Linked DNA regions of Homo sapiens: all the other regions are linked to region 2. Evidence: promoter capture Hi-C in 16 types of primary human blood cells and fetal thymus (Javierre and others, 2016). All regions are on one chromosome and are shown on one strand. Each heading gives the region's core, a stretch centred on a gene start or on the middle of the fragment in contact. The rest is flanking DNA. Distances are from core to core; before and after follow the strand shown.

Region 1 (2,700 bases), core at 102-2,601, 1.4 Mb after region 2:
GATAAAGATTCTTTAAAATATCTCACCAGAAACTTATAATTTTATACTTTGTAATATTTAGTTTCTATAATTTGAGGAAGGGACTTTTTCATTTGGATTAAGTAAAAAGCCTTTATTTGATTGCCAGCATGAGAATTCACCTTGGTTTCTATTTTATGCATTTGTAAATTTTTTCCCTAATTACATGGAAGCTATTGGAACTTTTGTATTCAATGCTAAATACTAAGTCAAAGGGAGTATAATAGGTAAGTTTTTTCAGTTACTGTGTCTTTAGCATTCAGTCATTATAAGAAAATGATCATAAGAAAATCATTATATTATAAACATGTAATTATTTCATATAATGATTATCATGTACTGCAATGTTACTTTTAAAATAAGCTATTAAACTAGTTTTTATGTTTCAACTAATGCAAAAAAAAATAAAGAAATATCTGAGACTGGCTAATTTATAAAGAAAAGAGGTTTAATTGACTCACAGTCCCACATGGCTGGGGAGGCCTCAGGAAACTTACAACCATGGCAGAATGCACCTCTTCATAGGGTGGTAGGAGAGAGAACGAGAGCTGAGTGAAGGGGGAAACCCCTTACAAAACCATCAGATCTTGTGAGAACTCACTCACTATCATGAGAACAGCATGAGGGGAACCTGCTGTTTGGATGGGGACACAGAGTCAAATCATATCAGGGGTTTTCTTCAATCTTCTTACACACATCTTGAAATGACAACTATTGTTAAAGTGATGGAAATTTCATTTGGTAGAACAACAGGCAGATATGTGATCTTATTAAAACTGTTACTATGATTGAGGATTTCTTTCTAAGGGAATACAACATTCTCAGCATTCTCCCCCAACAAAACAAAAGAAACAGATTTCAAAACAAGGTCAAATGTAATAGAGCGCTTAAAAAATAAAAACCATTAAAATTGTAAAGACAGATTCTACAGGAGAGCCAGATTAAGTTATTACCAATTTAATCTGAAAGTAGATATTGTAGAAAGAAAGAAACAAGGAAAGGGTTTGTTTTACAAAGATTTGTTATCTTATTAATAACAAAATAGAATAATGTCAAACAGAAAAAAATATTGAATGTAGGTGGCAGATATCTTTCCAACTCTCTTTAGTCTCTTGCTACATCTTAACTTCCTTATTATAAAAGTAAATTGCGTCTCCTCTGGGCCCAGTTTCAATGACCTCAATGAAGCTGACATGCAACATCTACAAAATTACACAGGTACATGGATGCCCTTTAGTAACTGGTTGACTTCAAGCAGGTCTGGCCATGAAGTCAGACTATGAAGCAAGTTTCCCAGGATGGAAAAACATGCATTCTCCCTCCCACAAGCCAAAAGAAAATAATGAATGGCCCCTTCTGAAAGGACACAAATCCTGGGTACAGTGGGCTAGAAATTTTTCCAAGTTACTTGAAGTCACTTAGTTTATCTCCTTTCTCCTTCCTACACAGATAATCTTCCTGGCCTCTTGAGAGCACCATTCAGTCCAGGGTATTCTTAATGCACAAAATTACCACTTTTGGTCTTCTGAAAGACTGACAGGGACAGACTGAGATGAGAAAAAAATGTATTTCCTGCTTAGGATGAAGTTCAAGACATTAAACATATATACACATAAAACAATTAGAGAAACCATACATAATGGTACAATCTAACGTTGAATGTTGTGGCACAGGCTTTAAGCATTATAGGATTTCTTCTTCCTGATGGTACAATTCAATTCAACATGCAGTTTTTTTGAATAATGTTTACCACTTGTATACATGAGTGTAACCATGACCACAAGATGAATTTTTTTTTTAAAAAAAGACCCAAACGCAGAACATTTTCAAGAAATTTCAGAACACTTTGGGCATGGAGAGCATTGTGAAAGATTCTAGAGGGGGACCACTATGTCCTACAAAGAAAAAAGAATGTAATTTCTTATTAGAATACCTAGATGCTATAACTTCAACTTTCTGAGAAAAATAATTATGGACCTAACATTCCACACTCAGTAAAAATATCAATCAAGTGAGAAAGTGAGAGGGAAAAATTGAGGTCACTTTCCAGCATGTAAAAATTCATCAAGTTGATTTATCATGCACCCTTTCAAGAAAATTACTTGAAGATGTTCTCCAGCCAGAACAAGAATTAAGTCCAAGAAACGTAAAAACTTGAGATCCCAGAACACTGACTCCAACCCAGGACTTGGGTGGAAAAAAACTCAGGATGACAGCTTGGCATCCAGCCCAGAGAGCAGCTGGTTCAGATTGTAATAAGAAGTCAGATGGTTCTGGGAAATCCGTCTTCAACAATTATATTACATCACTTATCAAAGATGGAATATGTTTAAGGCAGATACATCATCTTAGTGTTTGATGAAGGCATACAATAAAAAATAAAATAAGACACTTTGAAATCATAGGATAGTAAACAATGTTAACACAATCACAATAGAAATACTGTGCATTGATATTTTTGATTTTAGATTCAACCAATGAATAAAGCATGCAAGGATTAATTATGATTACAGAAGAGATGACCAAAGCTAACAAAAGTTGTTAGGATGGGAGAACAGTGCATACAGAAGAGTAGGGAAAGAAGTAGAGGGAAGGATAGGAGTCCTAATTTACTCATCTTACTAATAACAGCTAACATTGGGTACTTAACATTGTGCTCATTCAGAGATAAGCATGAATTAA
Region 2 (2,700 bases), core at 44-2,543:
GGCACAAATTCAATGGTTTCATGGGTTGTAATCTTTGGATGGTGACAGAGGCTGCTGCTAATTCTAAAGAAAAATCAGTTGAAGTCCATTACTGACACACCAGTATAGAAGTTCTGTGAACTTTGATTCTTAAGTGGTAATAGTCAACATCTTACAGCACAGAGTATTTGTTTTGTGGGGTCAAAGTAAAAAGTCCTAAGCTAAAAAAAAGATATCATATTCATCTCATAATCACAAAGCATTTGGGCTTCAGTAAAGTAAGGTGTGTAGGACCTATGATAAGGATCAAGTTTTTCTTTTGTATTGACAATCAGTCACGGAACTTCTTTCAGGCTTTGGATTTGTGGGCCCTTCTTAATTGGCATAGTTTTTGGTATAAGGAAAACTGCTTCATGCCTCTAGGAACCCCTCTATCCAGTTACACCCCTAACCACGAGCTCTTTTCATCATCTTATTTTGCATATCTGGCCCAGCTACGCTTCCTCACCTGGCTAACTTAACTCGCAGGATCAGAATTGATGGTTTTTCTTTTGACACCTCGGGCTTCAATATGGCACAGCACGGTACTGTTACTATTACTTAAAATCGTGACATTTTGTCAGTCATGGATTTTTTTTGCTATAATTTTGATTTTTAGAGATTGCATTAAAACTTACCTTGATTACTGAATTTTATTGGCATCCATTTACATTTTACACTTATCTCACCCTAGTTCCAGCCCTGTCAGTATCTCAGAACCTTATCCTGTATAGTACTTATTTCTTTGCAAGATAGTTTTGTAAAGCGTCCATAAGCAGAGACTGTGTCAAGGCGTCCTACGCAAATTACAGGACCTTGCACAGACAGTTGCATAGAGCTGCATAGGGGAAAGGCGGGCAAAAGGTCTGACCTAAGTCTTCAAACACAGGCCTTCATACACCGTGCCACCTCGGCCCTCACAACCCGCCGCCCGGACCTGCAGCAGAGCCCACCTACTCTGTCCTCCCAGAGGAGTAGCTCCTCCATCAGAAGCCCGCTAGAGCCCAGCGAGGACTGGCTCCTGCACGTGAGAGTCCAATCTCAAGAGCGGGAATCGGAAGTCTCCCGGTGTGACGTCTCTGGGAAGTACAGTTCCGTGATGCCGGTGGCGCCAGACTGAGCCAAGGAGCAGGTGTTCTCGGGCCCAGAGGCGCTAAGTAGCTAAAGAGGGCTGGGACGTACGTTCCGAAATGGCTGCTGTCAGGCTAGGAAAGCTTGGCCCGCCGGTCCTCCTCTGCTTTCTCCGCCTACTTGGGTCGGCGAACACTTCCGCCTTGGTGCCGCCTCGCCCCGACTTCCCAGTATGCCCCGCGCCGTCTCCCTGGCCACGGTTCCAAACAGCCGTGGCCCGCGGTGTCTGGCGCTCGGTGGGTGTGGTTGCCCCTAGTTTGAGGCCTGCCCGATTACCCGCAAGACTTGGGCAGCCCCGGGCGCCGCTCCGACCACGACAGGGAAAGGTAAAGCGAACTGTCCTCCTTGGGGCTAGCCAGGCTCCCCTGCGAGGGGGAAGGTAATGGTTTCAAGCTGCCCGGGCTGGGTTCCGAATCTCTAGGACGCCATGGCTGCGATCTCCTCGCTTTCCTGGACATCTTACCTCCGGATGTACTCCAGTCTCAGTGCCCCTCAATAAACGTTAACCTGCTTTGCCAAAATGTAAATGTTTAAAAAGGTGAAGAAGCAAGGAATTGTTCGTTTTACCTTAAGGTTAAGATTTACTTTAAAGGTAGATTTGTGCTGTAGCAGAAACTGGTGACAAATTGCCTTCCTCTTATTACCTGGGAAGATAACTACTGGTTTTCAACTTGTGATAAATACTCCTTCCGTTGTCTTTTGCCCCCAGCCAGATCTGTTTCACCGAGAACGGGTAGTTTGCACAAGGTAGTAACTTTCTCCAAGTTCCCATCTAGCTTTCTTAACTAACCTTTTTTCTCTCCTTTGGGCGGCAGTTGATCTGCTGGACACTTACTTGCCTTAACAAGGTTTGTTAAACACCTAGTATATGCCAGGAGGTATGCCAGGGATTGGGGATGCAGAAATAAAGAAGATGTGTTCGCAGTGCCCAAGTTCACTCAAACCTCGAGGGGGAGCGTGTTGTCAAGTGAACAGATAGTTCTAGAATCTAGACAATGCGACACATTCTTGGGTAGGTTTATGGTTGCGCAGAGGAGACTAATGGAATGGATGACCTAAAAGTGGACTGGGATGGGGGTGGCAGGGCTGAGTCTGTGAGGGTGGGCGGGAGGGAACCTAGTCCCAGAGTCTTCTGCAGCCTGGACCAGACTACTTAAGCACTGCTGGGTTTAGACTGTCCTTTAAAATAAGAGCCGCTAGAAGTGAACTTCTCATTCTGTCCGTCCCTAATTCTGTCCTTCTCTAAAAGGAACCTTAATCTCATCTTTAAAATAAGGAGAATTACTGAGTGACCTGAAGGACCCTTTTCAGCTGGAAAGTCTGTAAGTCCATATATTTATTTGAACAGCTTAGTATGGCCAGACGGCATCACTTTTATGACAGTGAAGGGGAAGTAAAAACAAAAGGTATATTTAGAGGCCTGCTCTGTAGTTGTTTTTCCAGCAGATTTTACTAACGTGTCTTTGGAAGGGAAAAGAAAAAGCTGGTAACTAATCTCACTGGTATTAGGTACAACTTAACTGATTCATACATTTTAAGAAGGAAAATGTT
Region 3 (2,707 bases), core at 202-2,701, 1.6 Mb after region 2:
CACAACTAATTTACAACTAATTTCATTTTTTGAACACGGTTATGGTTTAACATTCAGCTTGGTTCAGAATTAAGTATCTTTCAGTTATGTACCTCTTCAACACTCCTACAATATGAACGTTACTATCTCCTTTTTGCCAAAGCAGGACTAGATGTTCAAAGGGTAACTTGTCCAAATTCCACAGCAATTGAAATAGTTGAAATTTGAACTTTGATCTGTTTCAGTTTGTTACAACACAAGGCTTCTAGCCTAGAAATCTCAGCTATTCTTTATTCCACCTTTCCCTTCATCTTCCAATATCTATTGGGACATGGGACCTTTAAATTCTACACCCTAAAATGTTCCCTGATCCATCTCATTTATTATTATTTTCATTTTCACCAAAATCAGTAGTCAAAGAATATAAATGCTAGTGATAAAATACCACTAGCACACTATGTTGTTGCAATTTTTACGCCCTTTCACCTATATTACGGTATTTCATTTCATTAATAAGACTAATCAAAATAGGTATTACAACTTAGGAAACTAGTTCTCAGAGTGTTTATGTAACATATTTAAACTCCCAGACAGCAAGTGACAGATCCAGTTTTCTGAATGATAGGACTCTTTCTGTAGCCCTGTATTAGTAACAATGTTATTTTTAGAATAAAGTTTTAAGAATGTATTATCTATTGTAAAACATCAGACTAAAGCCAGATTCCCGGTGGGGAACGCTACTCTCAGGATCCTCTCACTCAGTTCCATTACCTCACTTCAAAAAACCTGAGGCCCAAAGTGGTGCTGTGACCTCCTAAGTGGAAAAGCTAGTACTCGAATTCGGATCCTCCATCTGGTGTCATTAACTCAGCCTCCCGGAATACGGCCAATCAAACGGAATTACACCAGCTTCTCAGAAAAAGATCTAATGGCTGTATCACAAAAGAAGGCATCTATTTCTCAGAATTTGTAGCCTTAATTGCCTTGGTGAATCCTCAAGGGACATAAATCCATCCTTTAACAAAGATTCCTTTGGATAGTAGAATGGTGAACGTTATTGCGCTTCCATTACCGCCCTCCAATTGGGAAGCCCCCAGCATCGAATTCGGAGGGCCGGCAATAGCAGCTCATGCCTGTAGGGTGCGTCCACTGACTGCAGGAAAAGCAATCAGGGTGGGAGAAACTTAGGAAACCACCCAGGGCCAAAGGAAGGAAAACTCAATGTACAAATTTTTTTCCGCTGGAGGCAAAGGCTGACATCCATACCTGTACTGGGCAATGGTCAGCGTAGCCTCACGTTCGGCCCCAAAGCCAGACAAGTGCTGGTTTAGGTAGGCCTCCAGGGACTTGCTGTCGAACTTGTGCTGGGGCAGCACTTCGGCCAAATCGGACTCGCCAGTAGCACCTGGCTTCATGATCACCCCCGCAGGCCACAGCAACGCGGCATCCACAGGTCTCGAGTGCCGAAGTCCTTCAGGATTGGGGCAACGTCCCCTCTAGAGCATGGGCCGAGGCCGGGGTGGGGTCTGGCTCCAGCCAACCGCACACAGCCTACGCGCCGTTGCTGAGCAACGCTTGCCCGCTGAATCCCGAGGTTTTAGCTCTAGTCAAGTGCCAAAAGAGCCCAATGTGTGTTCGGGTTTCAATTCTCCAGTCAGCGTCAGAGTTGGAGGCCTCAATTTTAAAGAAGGCAAAGCCATGGTCATCGTTGCGGGTAAGGAACAACGCAGAAGCCTCTTCCACCCCCAAATTTAATGCAACAGCAGGCGGAAGACCTGCAGGGTCCCGTTCAGAAAAAGGGCCGTCAGACTGTCGAGCCTAAGAATAAAAAGACCCTGTTTCTCTTAGATACCCGGTTAGCAAGGCAACATCGCTGGCCTCCTGCCCTGGACACTTATCACCCCGGTGCTGCTGCGGCCGGGTTTAGCCGGCCCAGCGAGGAAGGAAGCCGAAAGAGCCAGGTTTTTGATGAGGGGGAGCGATGTCTGCGACGCACCGGAAGCGGCTCCGAGGAAGGCCTGTGGGAGTCTCGGAGACGTGTCTGTCTGTGAGGCGCTGGGTGCACGTCCCCAGGGCTCTGGGCTAGGAAGGCAGCGGCGAGGTGCCTCCCCACGTACCCCTCGCGGGCCCAGCCGAGCAACGTGGGGCGAAGGCGGCGGCGAAGGCCCGGGCTGGGAGCGTTGGCGGCCGGAGTCCCAGCCATGGCGGAGTCTGTGGAGCGCCTGCAGCAGCGGGTCCAGGAGCTGGAGCGGGAACTTGCCCAGGAGAGGAGTCTGCAGGTCCCGAGGAGCGGCGACGGAGGGGGCGGCCGGGTCCGCATCGAGAAGATGAGCTCAGAGGTGGTGGATTCGAATCCCTACAGGTAACCTGCGTCGCCGGTCGGAGGCAGGCGCGGGGGACGAGGTCAGGCTCCGTGAGGTCAGAAGTGAGGCGCTTCCCACGTCCCGCTCATGGGGACGCCCGCCACCCTTTTCTTGGTCTGCGAATCCTGTTCCCAAATGGGCAAGGCCACATCTTAGTACTGATCGGAAGATATTCTTTCTCTTTTTTAAAAACCTCCAGTGAGTCAGCCATATGGTGCTGCTCCTGTGCCTGCTGAGGACGTGTGTCCAGTTTCCTATCACCCTTGCCTCTTAATTAGTCCGCCTCGCTGTGTATAAGACTGATAGTAAGAACTTTCAGAAGATGAGATCAAATATTAAACCTGCTAAGGTAAACTTTGAGTTTC
Region 4 (2,883 bases), core at 204-2,703, 1.3 Mb after region 2:
ACTCTTAACAGTCTGCAAATTTGCAAAACCTGAAGTTAATGAGTGGTTAATTGACTTAAGATTTTTTCCAGAATCAAATTCCTTTCTCCATACATACATGCGTTGGGGTGTGTGTGTGTGTGTGTGTGTGTGTGTGTGTGTGTACAGGTGTGCACCTACTGCAAGAAATGAAAGTGATTGGGAAGGAAGCAAGATAACAGTTATTCACGTGGAAGATCGAGAAGTGTAAATATTTACCACCAACAGCTCAGTTATATTATGGCAAGTTTATGAATGAAAAAAAAGGATTTTCAATTCTGAATACATATCCTACTATTTTAAGACCTATAGATCATTTGATTCTTTCTCCCCAATTTTGGAATTTCCACTCAGCTCAAAACACATTTGAATCTTTTATTAAGGTTGCTTTGAACCTAATGAGGCTTAAAATATTGCTGCAGCATATTTAGCAAAGTTTTTCTGACTCATAACAGTTTTATGATTTTTCTCTTATCCTCAGTTGCTATACCTGCCTTTCAGGAACTGCCCTCGTTTTCAAGAACTTGAGAGTGAGACTTTGAAATCAGAGGAATTCCAGAAGAGGCTGCACCCTTATAAGGTTAAAAGCTAGTTTTGTTTAGTGGTACTTGTTAGTTTGTTAGTGGTACTTGAGTGTGAGGGCCAAGACACAAGATGAAGCTTTGGCTTCTTAAAAAGATGGGACGAATGCATCTGTCAGTGGCTGGTTACAGCAATGGGTTAGAATATTTAATGAGGGAGGTCATCACTCCTGCTTCCCTTCCCCATACAGGGGTCACAAGCCAATAGACAAGCCAGTCCTTTTGAATCCTTTACTCATGGCCTTGAGAGGAACCAGGTGTGAGTAAATGGCTGGATGAGAATAAATATAAGTCTAAAATCACCTGCCTTATTCAGGCTAAGGGGCTGGGATTATTGTCTTCATATACAAAGGATAGTCTTTTTTTTTTGTTTCTATTTTGCAAAGTACCCATTTTCAGCACAATACAAAAGGTAGATATAATGCTGTGTACTTTTTAAAATAATCTTTTGAATATTATACATTCATACTGTCCAAAAATTAGAAAATATAAAAAGGAATACAGTGGAAGCCTCCATGACCCCACAGGTAACCACTAGCATTATTTTCTAGTAGTCTTTTATGTGTTTATTTTATGCAGTCTTTTATGTATTTTATGTAGTATTTTATGCAGTCTTCCAATTTCCTTATGCATATACAAACATAAAAATATATTCTGATAGTTTCTTCTTTTGTTACACGAAAATGGTATACTATTCATAGGGTTGGGCACCTTGGTTTTGTTTTGTTTTTTTTTTTCCATTTAAGAAAATATATTGGAAATATTTCTATATCTGTATGTAAAGAGTTTCCTCCTTTTCTTTCTTTTCCTTTTTTTTAACAAATGTGTAATATTTATATTTATGCCATAATTTATTTAACCAGCCCCTATTGATAGGAATATGGGTCATTTTTCAATCTTTCATTTTTACAAACAGCATGTATGAATAACTTGTGCATCTAAATAGTTTCACAAGAATACCTGTGGGATAATATCCTAGAAGTAGACATTCTGGGTTAATCTGAAATATTATTAATTTACCCTCCAAAGAGGTTTTACTACTTTCTACTTCTATCAGCACTGCATGCAAATGCCCATTTCTCCACAACTTTGCCAACAGTATGTGGACCACTCTGGGGATATTTGCCAATCTGGTAAGTGGAAAATAATATCACTAGAAGCATCCATCTCCTCTAAAATTAGGAATAAGACAAGGAAGCTCACTATTATAACTACTGTACAACATCGTGCTATAGTACTTTTCTTCTTGTGATGAGTGAGTTTGGGTATCTTCATCTAGTTAAATACCATTTTTTGGTTTGTTTTTTGATATTGTATTTCTTTTTTAACTTTTATTTTAAGTTCAGGGGTACAAATGCAGGTTTGTTATATAGGTAAACATGTGTCATGGGGGTTTGTTGTACAGATTATTTCATCACCCAGGTATAAAGCCTAGTACTCATTGGTTATTTTTCCTGACCCTTTGCCTCCTCCCACCCTTCACCTTCCAAGAGGCCCCAGTGTGTCTTCTTCCCCTCTATGTGTCCGTGTATTCTCATCAGTTAAATGCCATTTATATTTCCTTTTATATCAATATCCCTTGACTATTTTTCTTTTGGATGATTGATTTTCCTTTTGCTATAAGTTTTTAGAAGCTTTTTTCTATGTATTTTAACATTTCTGTCTGTGATATTTTGTGTGTGAAAAAAAACACACTCAATGTGTTTTTTCCTATTTTTCTCACTTGAAAACACCAATCAACACAGACAGAAGACTTCTGTGACCAAATATGGGGGATCTCTCTGCAAGAAAAGGCAGCCCGTTCTGCAGTAGACACCAGCTGGGTGGCCTCCAATTCAGTTTTGACACCATCTATTTGGAGATAGCATCAGATCCTACAGGTTGAGGGCTCAGGCCCCAAAACTGGCCACCCCCAACCCGCCACCTCAGACACAGATGAAAGTCCAGACCTCCAAACTTCTGACAGGCTGGCTTTAAGTTGGGGTTCCCACAACTTCCTCTTTGGGTTCGATCAGTTTGCAGGGGCAGCTCACAGAACTCAGGGAAACACAGTTATTGGTTATTACAAAGGATATTACAAAAGATATAAGGAAAAGGTCAAGGAGCTTGCCTGCCTTCTTCAGGACCACCACATTCCAGGAACCTCTAAGTGTTCAGCTCTCTGAAGGCTCTCTGAACCCTCTCCCTTTGGGCTTTTTATGGAGATTTCATTGCATAGGCATGATTGATTAAGCCACAGGCTATTGGCTATCAACTTAAATTTTAACTCCCTCCCCTCCCCAGA
Region 5 (2,709 bases), core at 132-2,631, 1.3 Mb after region 2:
CTGAAACTGCCCACTCTGCAAGAAGAAATCATGATATAGCTTTGCCATGTGGCAGATCTACATGTCTAGAGAACACTGTGCTCTATTACCATTATGGATAAAGATGAGATGGTTTCTAGAGATGGTTTCTACTGGCTGCCAGAATCTAGAGCAAAGCCATCCCCGCTCCTGGTTGGTCACAGAATGACTGACAAAGACATCGATTGATATGCTTCTTTGTGTTATTTCCCTCCCAAGTAAATGTTTGTCCTTGGGTCCATTTTCTATGCTTGTAACTGTCTTCTAGCAGTGAGCCAAATGTAAAATAGTGAATAAAGTCATTATTAGGAAGTTCAAAAGCATTGCTTTTATAATGAACTTAGAAAAACGTATGTGTGTGTGTTTAATTAGAATAAAATTCCTCTAGGCAGATTTCAGGAGCTCCCTTTGTGTTTGGGGTTTTTGTTTTAGTATAACAAGATGGAAAATATTAATATAAAGTAAAATGATTTGACTGGCTTAAATGAACATTTTACATTGAAAATATAGTTTGGACTTTACCACTTCAGATAAAGGTGAAGCTGTGGATGGCTCTGCCTCATCTATTTAAGATGGAATTTGCTAAGGAAACACCCTCAGGAAGTGCACAATATACTAGGGAAGTAAAGAGATACATACTGTACAACATGGAAAAACCAGGGCTATGTCTTATGACTACACAGATTACTGTGGGAACAAGAGTTATCCAGATTTGGAGTAGGGGAAGTAAGGAAGGTCAGGAAAGGCTTTCTGCAGAAGGTAGCAACTGTACCACGTAAAATCAGTTTGAGGCCAGGCGAGGTGGCTCAGGCCTGTAATCCCAGCACTTTGGGAGGCCAAGGTGGGCGGATCACAAGGTCAGGAGATTGAGACCATCCTGGCTAACACGGTGAAACCCCATCTCTACTAAAAATACAAAAAGCCGGGCATGGTGGCGGGCACCTGTAGTCCCAGCTACTCGGGAGGCTGAGGCAGGAGAATGGCGTGAACCCGGGAAGCGGAACTTGCAGTGAGCCGAGATCGCGCCACTGCACTCCAGCCTGGGCAACAGAGCGAGACTCTGTCTAAATAAATAAATAAATAAATAAATAAATTTGTTACCTTTTCCCCTGACCCTACTCTTGTCTATCTTGATGAGCAGCAATACCTGGTAACTTAGGAGTTATTTTTTACCCTACCCTCTCCTTCATTCTCCATAGTCTCTCACCTCCTCTTGTAAATCTACCTGTGGTATGTTTGCAGAATTCTTTCCCTCAAAACACAAATAACAATATGCAGGTAGAGTGAAATATGATTAAGCAGCAAAAAATGTTAATAGAAAGAAAAATGTAAGGGTTGATGTGCTGCAGCCCGCTCATACAGATCTCAAGAGTGGAATGTGTCCATCAGTTCCCAACTCTCAGTTCAACCACTTCACCTGGGCAGCTCCAATGTGGCAGGAGTATTTTCACCAAAGAAATTAAATGCTACAAATCCTACCACCACACCACTGGTTTGGGCTCATAGAAAGTTTGTTAAGAGTCTGTGACATGAGGTGGCCTCTAATACAGTGAGTTCAATATTTGAACTTCTGTAAAGAAAAGGATTAGATTTATTCAGTATGATCTTAAAGAGGGATGCTAGGGGCAGCAGGTAAAAATTTCAGGGAGACAGATTTTCGTTCAGTGTTGGGAAACTCCTGAGGTAAGAAGTGCCCATTAGGCTGGGTGGCCACTCACCTTAGAAGAGAGATACTACAGAGAAGGCTGAAACATGGAAGATTGTAGGGGTTGAGTGGCTCATTAGTTTGGCCACCAAATCTAGCAAATAAAAGTACAGGATGCCGAGATAAATTTGACAAAAGGCTGTAACTGCCAAGTTTTTGTAATTCATTGGAAAAAAAAAAAAAAACAATACAGGACACTTAGGATGTTCTGAAAAAGCCGATACAGGAAGCAGGACAAAATCATTAAATATAGGATATGTCCTATATATGCAAGATACTTTGCAACCCTACTCCTTAGAGTAGGGGTTTCCACCCATTAAATTCTATCCATAACTATAAGCAGTGTTTTTAGCTAGTGCCAGTAGGCTCACTTAACCAGATTCCAGATCGTATCAATTAAATTCACCAGAGTCTTTGCTGGAAAATTCACAAGTCTAAGGCCATAGCACATTGCTTGAAAATAATAAAATTTGTCAAACTGCTTCTTTAATTCCAACATTTTACTAACACATTCAGACTTTCTTCACTAGTGCTCTCCCACCCCCATCTCAATGTCCAACTCTAATTATTTCACAAGAAGGAGACTTACTAGTGAGAAGTCCCAGTTTTCTCTCATTATCTTTCTAAAGCTGAGAATCTACAGCACAAATACACATGCCCAAGATTCAACCTTGAGCTTCTTAAAGGCAGGATCCATACATGTTTCCTCTTTGAGTGTTCAGCCAGTAGACAACGCCTAGAACCTTGTGCCTTCAATCAATATTTGCTAACTGAATACATGTCCAGCCCTGCATACCTAGCATGGCTTCCTTGTGGCTGAGCTCAGAAGTCAGAAGCCTGGAACTCAGTTTATTTATAAATAAGAGAGAGAAGCTATGAATGAGCCTCAAAAGTGATTATACTGTAGAGACCCAATCATTGGCCATAAACACATTTCTATGTGCCAACATGTCTGTAGTATTTGACTTCTGTTTTCAGCATAGTTG
Region 6 (2,700 bases), core at 135-2,634, 1.4 Mb after region 2:
GTTACCTGTGCAAAGGTACATTTAGGTGTGGTTCAGTCAATAAAACCATATAGCTTGCTAGTAATTCTTTTCAGATGCTCTTTATTCAATAGTCGACATATGGGAGTTTTACTTGTACTTTCATGGACTACTTGTGAAAAAGAGTGAGCTTTAAAGTCAGTGGAATTTTACAGTTTAAGCACTCAAGTTGCCCTTAGAAGAACACTGCCTAGTCACATATTTAGCACATGCCCAGTGGTAATATCTCTTTGCAATGGATTAATAAGAGTTTGATATTTTGATTATCAGATAGAAAACAAAACCCCTAAAGCAATCCAGAATTATTTTAGCTGGGTGCACAATAATCACACGTGTAATCCCAGCACTTGGAAGGCTGAGGCGGGAGGATCACTCGAGGCCAGGAGCTCCAACCTAGCTTGAGCAACCCCGTCTCATCAAAAAATGAAATAACTAGCTGGCTGTGGTGACGTGTGCTCGGGAGGCTGAGGCAGGAGGATTGCTTGAACCCAGGAGACTGAGATTACAGTGAGCTATGATTGTGTTGCTGCGTTTCAGTCTGGGTGACAAAGGAAGACCCTGTCTCTTAAAAAAAATTATTTCGACGCTTTGATTTTTGCCAGCTCTAGTTGCCACAACTTAATGGAAGGGTTGGTGAGGTTATGAATGGAGGAGATGTTCTCTAATATTTCATGTATTCTGTAATACATTTAAACGCTTATACATGGTGTTCTCACTTTTATTGTATTCCTTAGTCATCTAAGGCTATGGGGTTTCTCTCCTCAAACTTCTAGTCAAGCTACAGAATGTATTTTGAATGTTTATCAAATCTTAGAGCAGATAAGCCATTTTCCCCCCAAATCTTAGCACTAATGGGCTTAATTTTAAAAGTGAAACTTTGCTTTTTTAAGATAATTTGGTAGTGTTCTATAAACTGTAAAGCGCCACAGAAGAGGTAGGAATAATAGGGATATTTCAGAACTAAACTAGAAATGTATGTTTTTGCTATTTTGTATTGAGTGAAGGGGAAATTGTAGCAAATTAAACTTTTGTCTTTTAATAGTATAAAAAGAACAGTGTTTGGGTTTTCAGGATGCTTTCTGTAAAACTGTCTTCAAGTTGTATGTGTTAAAAGCTTAGGAAATTTAGTCCCGCATTATGCATTTACTGTAATGATAGGAAAAACAGCAACAAGTTAAAATATGGCTGCTAAAAATTTCTTTTGCCCATTTCAGGGCCTGTTTACCATAGTAGAGCATGATTATTAAGTGCCTTAATAAGCTGATAAGCTTAATAAGTTGATAAGCTGAAGACCTTACAGAAATAGTATAGTTTGTTCTTGCATAAGCCAGGTTATGCTTCAAAGATAAAATGAAATAGAAATTAGGTCTATAAAGTTACAATAATGTGTATAAACTAAAAATATGTAAATGATCAATAGCAATGATTTCAAAGCATTGCTTAAGTGAACATGTTTCTGGAAAGAAAGCTTTCAGGTGAGTATTTTAAGGCATTTTTAAGCTTTGGAAAGGGAAGGGTCATAGTAATACATCTTTCACAGAAAATTTGAATTTTTTTAACAACAGATAAACTTCTGTTTTGTCAGAAATACAAATTATTCCCCTCAGATGAAATGAGCATACATGTGATAGAAATAGAAGAGACAGGTCTCTTTTCAATACTTGATTTATACTGTTGAATAGAAGAGGTCAAAAAAAGTAACTGCTATGGTAAGTATGCTTGTCCCCTCCTCCCATTAAGTGTTTCTTCAGATTTAGGGGTTGCTTTTGAATTTTTCTTGCCCTGTATTTCATTAATATATACTCAGTTTGTAATAGAAAGGAATCAAGTTTTTAAAAACAATGGTGGAGATCTCATATTATTTCAGCTACCCTATGGTAGTGAAACTAGTTAAAAGTTGATTATGATGTGACAGTACAATCACTTCACTTTAAAATATCTGGGCAATTATTTGAAGATATGATTATCAGATGAAATTTGATATTACCGCTGGCTTTTTTTATTCTTCAACGACATCTATCTCTGGAGGTATCGGGTTCTTCAGTAAGTTAAGGAAGGCTAAGATGGTAGGTACTAAAATCTTTGTGATGTATTTATGGTTTGTTTTAAGATTCCTGTTGGTATCATACATATTACACATACTGATTTGTTGTTCATTTAGAAGAAAATGCTTTTACCTGTACTTGAGTCATATATTAAAATGAAGCTAAAATTTAAAAATAGGGTTAAAGTTCATATGGCAGTTTCCCCCATACACAGCACATTCTATCTAAACAGTTTAGTTGTAGCTATTTAATCTGGGTAAAAATGAACATTCTGTTAGCCATTCATATTTTTTACCATTTGTTTGAAACCAAACTAATCTAGTGCTATGATTTACTCAGATTTTGAATCCAGTTACAAACAAACCTAGATCCTCAAGAAGCCAATATAAGATATTCTATCTATTACTCTTATTAGTTATTTTTTCAAAGGGTTAGTCTTTCCATGGTTCTCCTTACTACCCCTCCCTTTTTGGTAAGATATAGCTGTAGGAAGTATTACGTTCATAAATTAGTTCCTATGATGTGAATGTCTGCTACATTTTAAGTGTGGTTTTGGAATGTAGCATTGTTTCTGTTGTAGGAGAGTTTGATCAGAAAAGGCAAACTCCACAATTTTCACCCAACATATTGTAAACAT
Region 7 (2,935 bases), core at 82-2,581, 1.6 Mb after region 2:
CTAAAAATTTTGAGTGGTGACGACAGTCCTGAGCTGTAGGGGAACAGGGAGTGGGTTGGGCTCCCTCAGTGCTCTGGGGGGAGCATTTACTTAGTACTGTGTCACAAAACAGACCTACTCAATTAATTGTAAACATAGCTAACTGTACCTCTTTAGGGTGGAAAACTATGTTATCTAGTCTGAAATCTCCATGAATCAAATTCTCTTCATTGTCATTATCGGGCAAGTTCTTCATTAGCCACTCCGATAGCTGTTGCATGGCAGGGATGTCCTGATGAGCTGCAGCTTGATATTGCTTTGTCCAGGTTGATACCTAAAGACATATAAATAAGAAAAATGGTAAAGCTGAAACTGGAATGTAGGATCTAGCAATTCTAAAATTAAAACAAAATTCAAATGCTGTTTTACTCCTAAATACTTAAGACCCATGCTGGTGATACTCCTGTCATCCTAAAACACTCAAATCAGCCTAAACCTTAAACATTTAAGTCTCTTTTCCATATAGTTCCATTTTACTTACCTAGTTTTTTATCAAGAGAAAAATACTGGCCTAGGGATCAAGAGATATGGGTTCTAGTCTTTATTCAGCAACTACTTTGTAGAAGAAAAAAAAAGAATGCATACAAACACACACACGCACACACACACTCTCTCTCACACACACACACACACACACAAATATATAGGCATAGATAATCTCTGGAAAGGGTCACGAGAAATAAGTAACCCCTGAAAAAGGGAATATGGGGACTAGAAGAAAAAAGAAGACATTTACTTTTTTTTTTTTTGAGACAGAGTCTCGCTCTGTTGCCCAGGCTGGAGTGCTACCTCCACCTCCCAGGTTCAAGTGATTCTCCTGCCTCAGCCTCCTAAGTAGCTGGGATTACAGATGCATACCACCACACCCAGCTAATTTTTGTATTTTTAGTAGAGACGGAGTTTCACCATATTGGTCAAGCTGGTCTCGAACTCCTGACTTCGTGATCCGCCTGCCTTGGCCTTCCAAAGTCCTGGGATTACAAGCTTCAGCCACCGCGCCCAGCCTACTTTTCATTTTAATACTCTTTCTTATTACCCACAGAATTTTCTAAATATTTTACAGGTATGAATAGTGTAAAGATCTTCTATTGTTCTTAGAATTGAATGCAAACAAATCAACTTACTCGTAAAGTCCTCCAACAGGTGGGACCATATTGTTTATTTGCTTTTTTATCTCCATTTCCCGAGGTATCTTTGCTCAACTTAGTGCAATAGAGCAAAGACCTTTACTTGGTCTTATCTAGTCATATCAACCTGGGTTTAAATTATATCTAAGCCACTTACTTGTGTATTACTTGATTGATGCAAGCCTCCCTTTCTTCATCTGCAAAATGGGAGTAATAATACCTATATCTTAGAGTTGTTGTAAAGATCAAAAAAGAGAGGCCGACAACTCACTCTGCCATGTAGGACCTAGCATATAGTGAGTACACTCTAAACTTTAGTTCCCTTTTCTCTTCCTTAACCCCCACAAAATGATATGCTTACAAAGGAAAGCAGCCCCATATATATCTAGTATTGCTTTCCTTTAATTTAAAATGATCTCCATCACTCCAAATTTTATCTTTCCTTAAATACTCATTATAAGATATCTCTCCCAGGAAGCTTTCTCTATATAAGCAAGGGCATCCCAACTTCCACCCTTTGAATCATGGTGAGTATCAAACAATTTACCACTAGATTTTACACTCTTTTATACCATTTTCAGGTTTCGTGAATGACATGCATGTACAGGTCTCTCAAAAATGACCATAAGTTCCTGTGGGGAAGAACCTATTGTATATTTTTCTTGATATTTAACACAGTACTCAGCAGGTATTAAACACACAGTCAAGCTTAATAAATGTCTGCTAGTCCAATTGAGAAAGAAAAAACTGTAAGCCGGGCATGGTGGCTCACGCCTGTAATTCCAGCACTTTGGGAGGCTGAGGCGGGCGGATCACGAGGTCAGGAGATTGAGACCATCCTGGCTAACACGGTGAAACCCCATGTCTACTAAAAATACAAAAAAATTAGCAGGGCGTGATGGCGGGAGCCTGTAGTCCCAGCTGCTCGGGAGGCTGAGGTAGGAGAATGGCGTGAACCTGGGAGGTGGAGCTTGCAGTGAGCAGAGATTGCACCACTGCACTCCAGCCTGGGCAACAGAGGGAGACTCTGTCTCAAAATGATGATGATGATGAAGAAGAAGAAGAAGAAGAAGAAGAAGAAGAAGAAGAAGAAGAGGAGGAAGAAGAGGAGGAAGAAGAGGAGGAAGAAGAGGAAGAAGAGGAGGAAGAAGAGGAGGAAGAAGAGGAAGAGGAAGAGGAAGAGGAAGAGGAAGAAGAAGAAGAAGAAGAAGAAGAAGAAGAAAAAACTGTATAGTTAAAAGTATTGGAAAATTAAGAGTCTAAAACAGAAGATTTTGCTGAACAAAACCTAATATAAAAACATAAGATAATTTTATACTAAAAACTAGTCATTCTGAAGGACAATGTTAAAAGTCATGGCCAAGCTTCAGAAAACTATACAATAATAGCTTTTTTTGTTGACTAATAAGGTATATTATTTACAAGAACTTGAAAAAAATAGCTATTAATGTGGATGCATTACCTGTCTTTTGCAGTACCCAGCACCTATACCATATCCTTCCAGCTGCAGTGACTGTATATTCAAGGAATGTAACTGAGCCAATGTTTCTACCGTGGCCACATATATGGCTGAACGTTCTGCTGGGCTAAGTCCAGGAATTGTTAAATCACGGAAGATTCGACCCTATGGAAGTGATTACAACAGATTATTTAAATGTGTATAATCAATACTTTGTCGAATATACTAGAAAAACATTCATTTGTGAAACATATTTAATATTAGAGTATACATGCCAAAGGGAAAATAAAAGGATATGCCAAGATGAATA

The links. Contacts are between HindIII fragments. The CHiCAGO score rates a contact against its expected background, and 5 or more counts as called.
Region 1: a contact is called between a fragment that was not itself captured here and the fragment with the promoter of ASTE1 in region 2, in 2 of 17 cell types (total B cells and naive B cells). The highest score is 6.9, in total B cells.
Region 3: a contact is called between the fragment with the promoter of ACAD11 here and the fragment with the promoter of ASTE1 in region 2, in 1 of 17 cell types (naive CD8 T cells). The highest score is 5.4, in naive CD8 T cells.
Region 4: a contact is called between a fragment that was not itself captured here and the fragment with the promoter of ASTE1 in region 2, in 3 of 17 cell types (total B cells, naive B cells and total CD4 T cells). The highest score is 14.6, in total B cells.
Region 5: a contact is called between a fragment that was not itself captured here and the fragment with the promoter of ASTE1 in region 2, in 2 of 17 cell types (naive B cells and total B cells). The highest score is 6.6, in naive B cells.
Region 6: a contact is called between a fragment that was not itself captured here and the fragment with the promoter of ASTE1 in region 2, in 1 of 17 cell types (total B cells). The highest score is 7.0, in total B cells.
Region 7: a fragment that was not itself captured here is called in contact with the fragment with the promoter of ASTE1 in region 2 in 1 of 17 cell types (total B cells); the score reaches 6.3 in total B cells.

Annotation. Positions count from the first base shown.
Region 1 is chr3:132,392,279-132,394,978 of GRCh38, forward strand. No RefSeq gene overlaps it. Among named protein-coding and RNA genes, the nearest start is that of DNAJC13, 24 kb to the right of the region's middle. The HindIII fragment of the contact is 9,134 bases long and covers 1-2,700 here.
Region 2 is chr3:131,025,532-131,028,231 of GRCh38, forward strand. ASTE1 (asteroid structure-specific endonuclease 1) reads right to left here and starts at 1,294. Exons shown (of 6, transcript NM_014065.4): 1 at 976-1,294; 2 at 1-63. It overlaps NEK11 (NIMA related kinase 11), which reads left to right and starts at 1,346. Exons shown (of 18, transcript NM_024800.5): 1 at 1,346-1,475; 2 at 2,399-2,471. RefSeq lists enhancers at 946-1,185, 1,326-1,385, 1,466-1,655. The HindIII fragment of the contact is 10,416 bases long and covers 1,231-2,700 here.
Region 3 is chr3:132,658,358-132,661,064 of GRCh38, forward strand. It overlaps ACAD11 (acyl-CoA dehydrogenase family member 11), which reads right to left and starts at 1,452. Exons shown (of 20, transcript NM_032169.5): 1 at 1,246-1,452. The coding sequence starts at 1,394. It overlaps UBA5 (ubiquitin like modifier activating enzyme 5), which reads left to right and starts at 1,972. Exons shown (of 12, transcript NM_024818.6): 1 at 1,972-2,341. The coding sequence starts at 2,181. All of the region lies in intron 26 of NPHP3-ACAD11 (NPHP3-ACAD11 readthrough (NMD candidate)), which reads right to left. RefSeq lists enhancers at 1,754-2,292, 1,828-1,917, 2,288-2,567. The HindIII fragment of the contact is 2,892 bases long and covers 1-2,707 here.
Region 4 is chr3:132,336,957-132,339,839 of GRCh38, forward strand. ACP3 (acid phosphatase 3) reads left to right here. Exons shown (of 10, transcript NM_001099.5): 5 at 500-598. Among named protein-coding and RNA genes, the nearest start is that of ACP3, 21 kb to the left of the region's middle. The HindIII fragment of the contact is 1,555 bases long and covers 677-2,231 here.
Region 5 is chr3:132,358,423-132,361,131 of GRCh38, forward strand. It overlaps ACP3 (acid phosphatase 3), which reads left to right. Exons shown (of 10, transcript NM_001099.5): 10 at 1-419. Among named protein-coding and RNA genes, the nearest start is that of ACP3, 42 kb to the left of the region's middle. The HindIII fragment of the contact is 5,322 bases long and covers 1-2,709 here.
Region 6 is chr3:132,422,696-132,425,395 of GRCh38, forward strand. The region is part of intron 1 of DNAJC13 (DnaJ heat shock protein family (Hsp40) member C13); the gene reads left to right. Among named protein-coding and RNA genes, the nearest start is that of DNAJC13, 6.5 kb to the left of the region's middle. The HindIII fragment of the contact is 200 bases long and covers 1,285-1,484 here.
Region 7 is chr3:132,639,344-132,642,278 of GRCh38, forward strand. It overlaps ACAD11 (acyl-CoA dehydrogenase family member 11), which reads right to left. Exons shown (of 20, transcript NM_032169.5): 4 at 2,629-2,790; 5 at 149-313. NPHP3-ACAD11 (NPHP3-ACAD11 readthrough (NMD candidate)) reads right to left here. Exons shown (of 45, transcript NR_037804.1): 29 at 2,629-2,790; 30 at 149-313. Among named protein-coding and RNA genes, the nearest start is that of ACAD11, 19 kb to the right of the region's middle. RefSeq lists a silencer at 1,917-2,107. The HindIII fragment of the contact is 621 bases long and covers 1,022-1,642 here.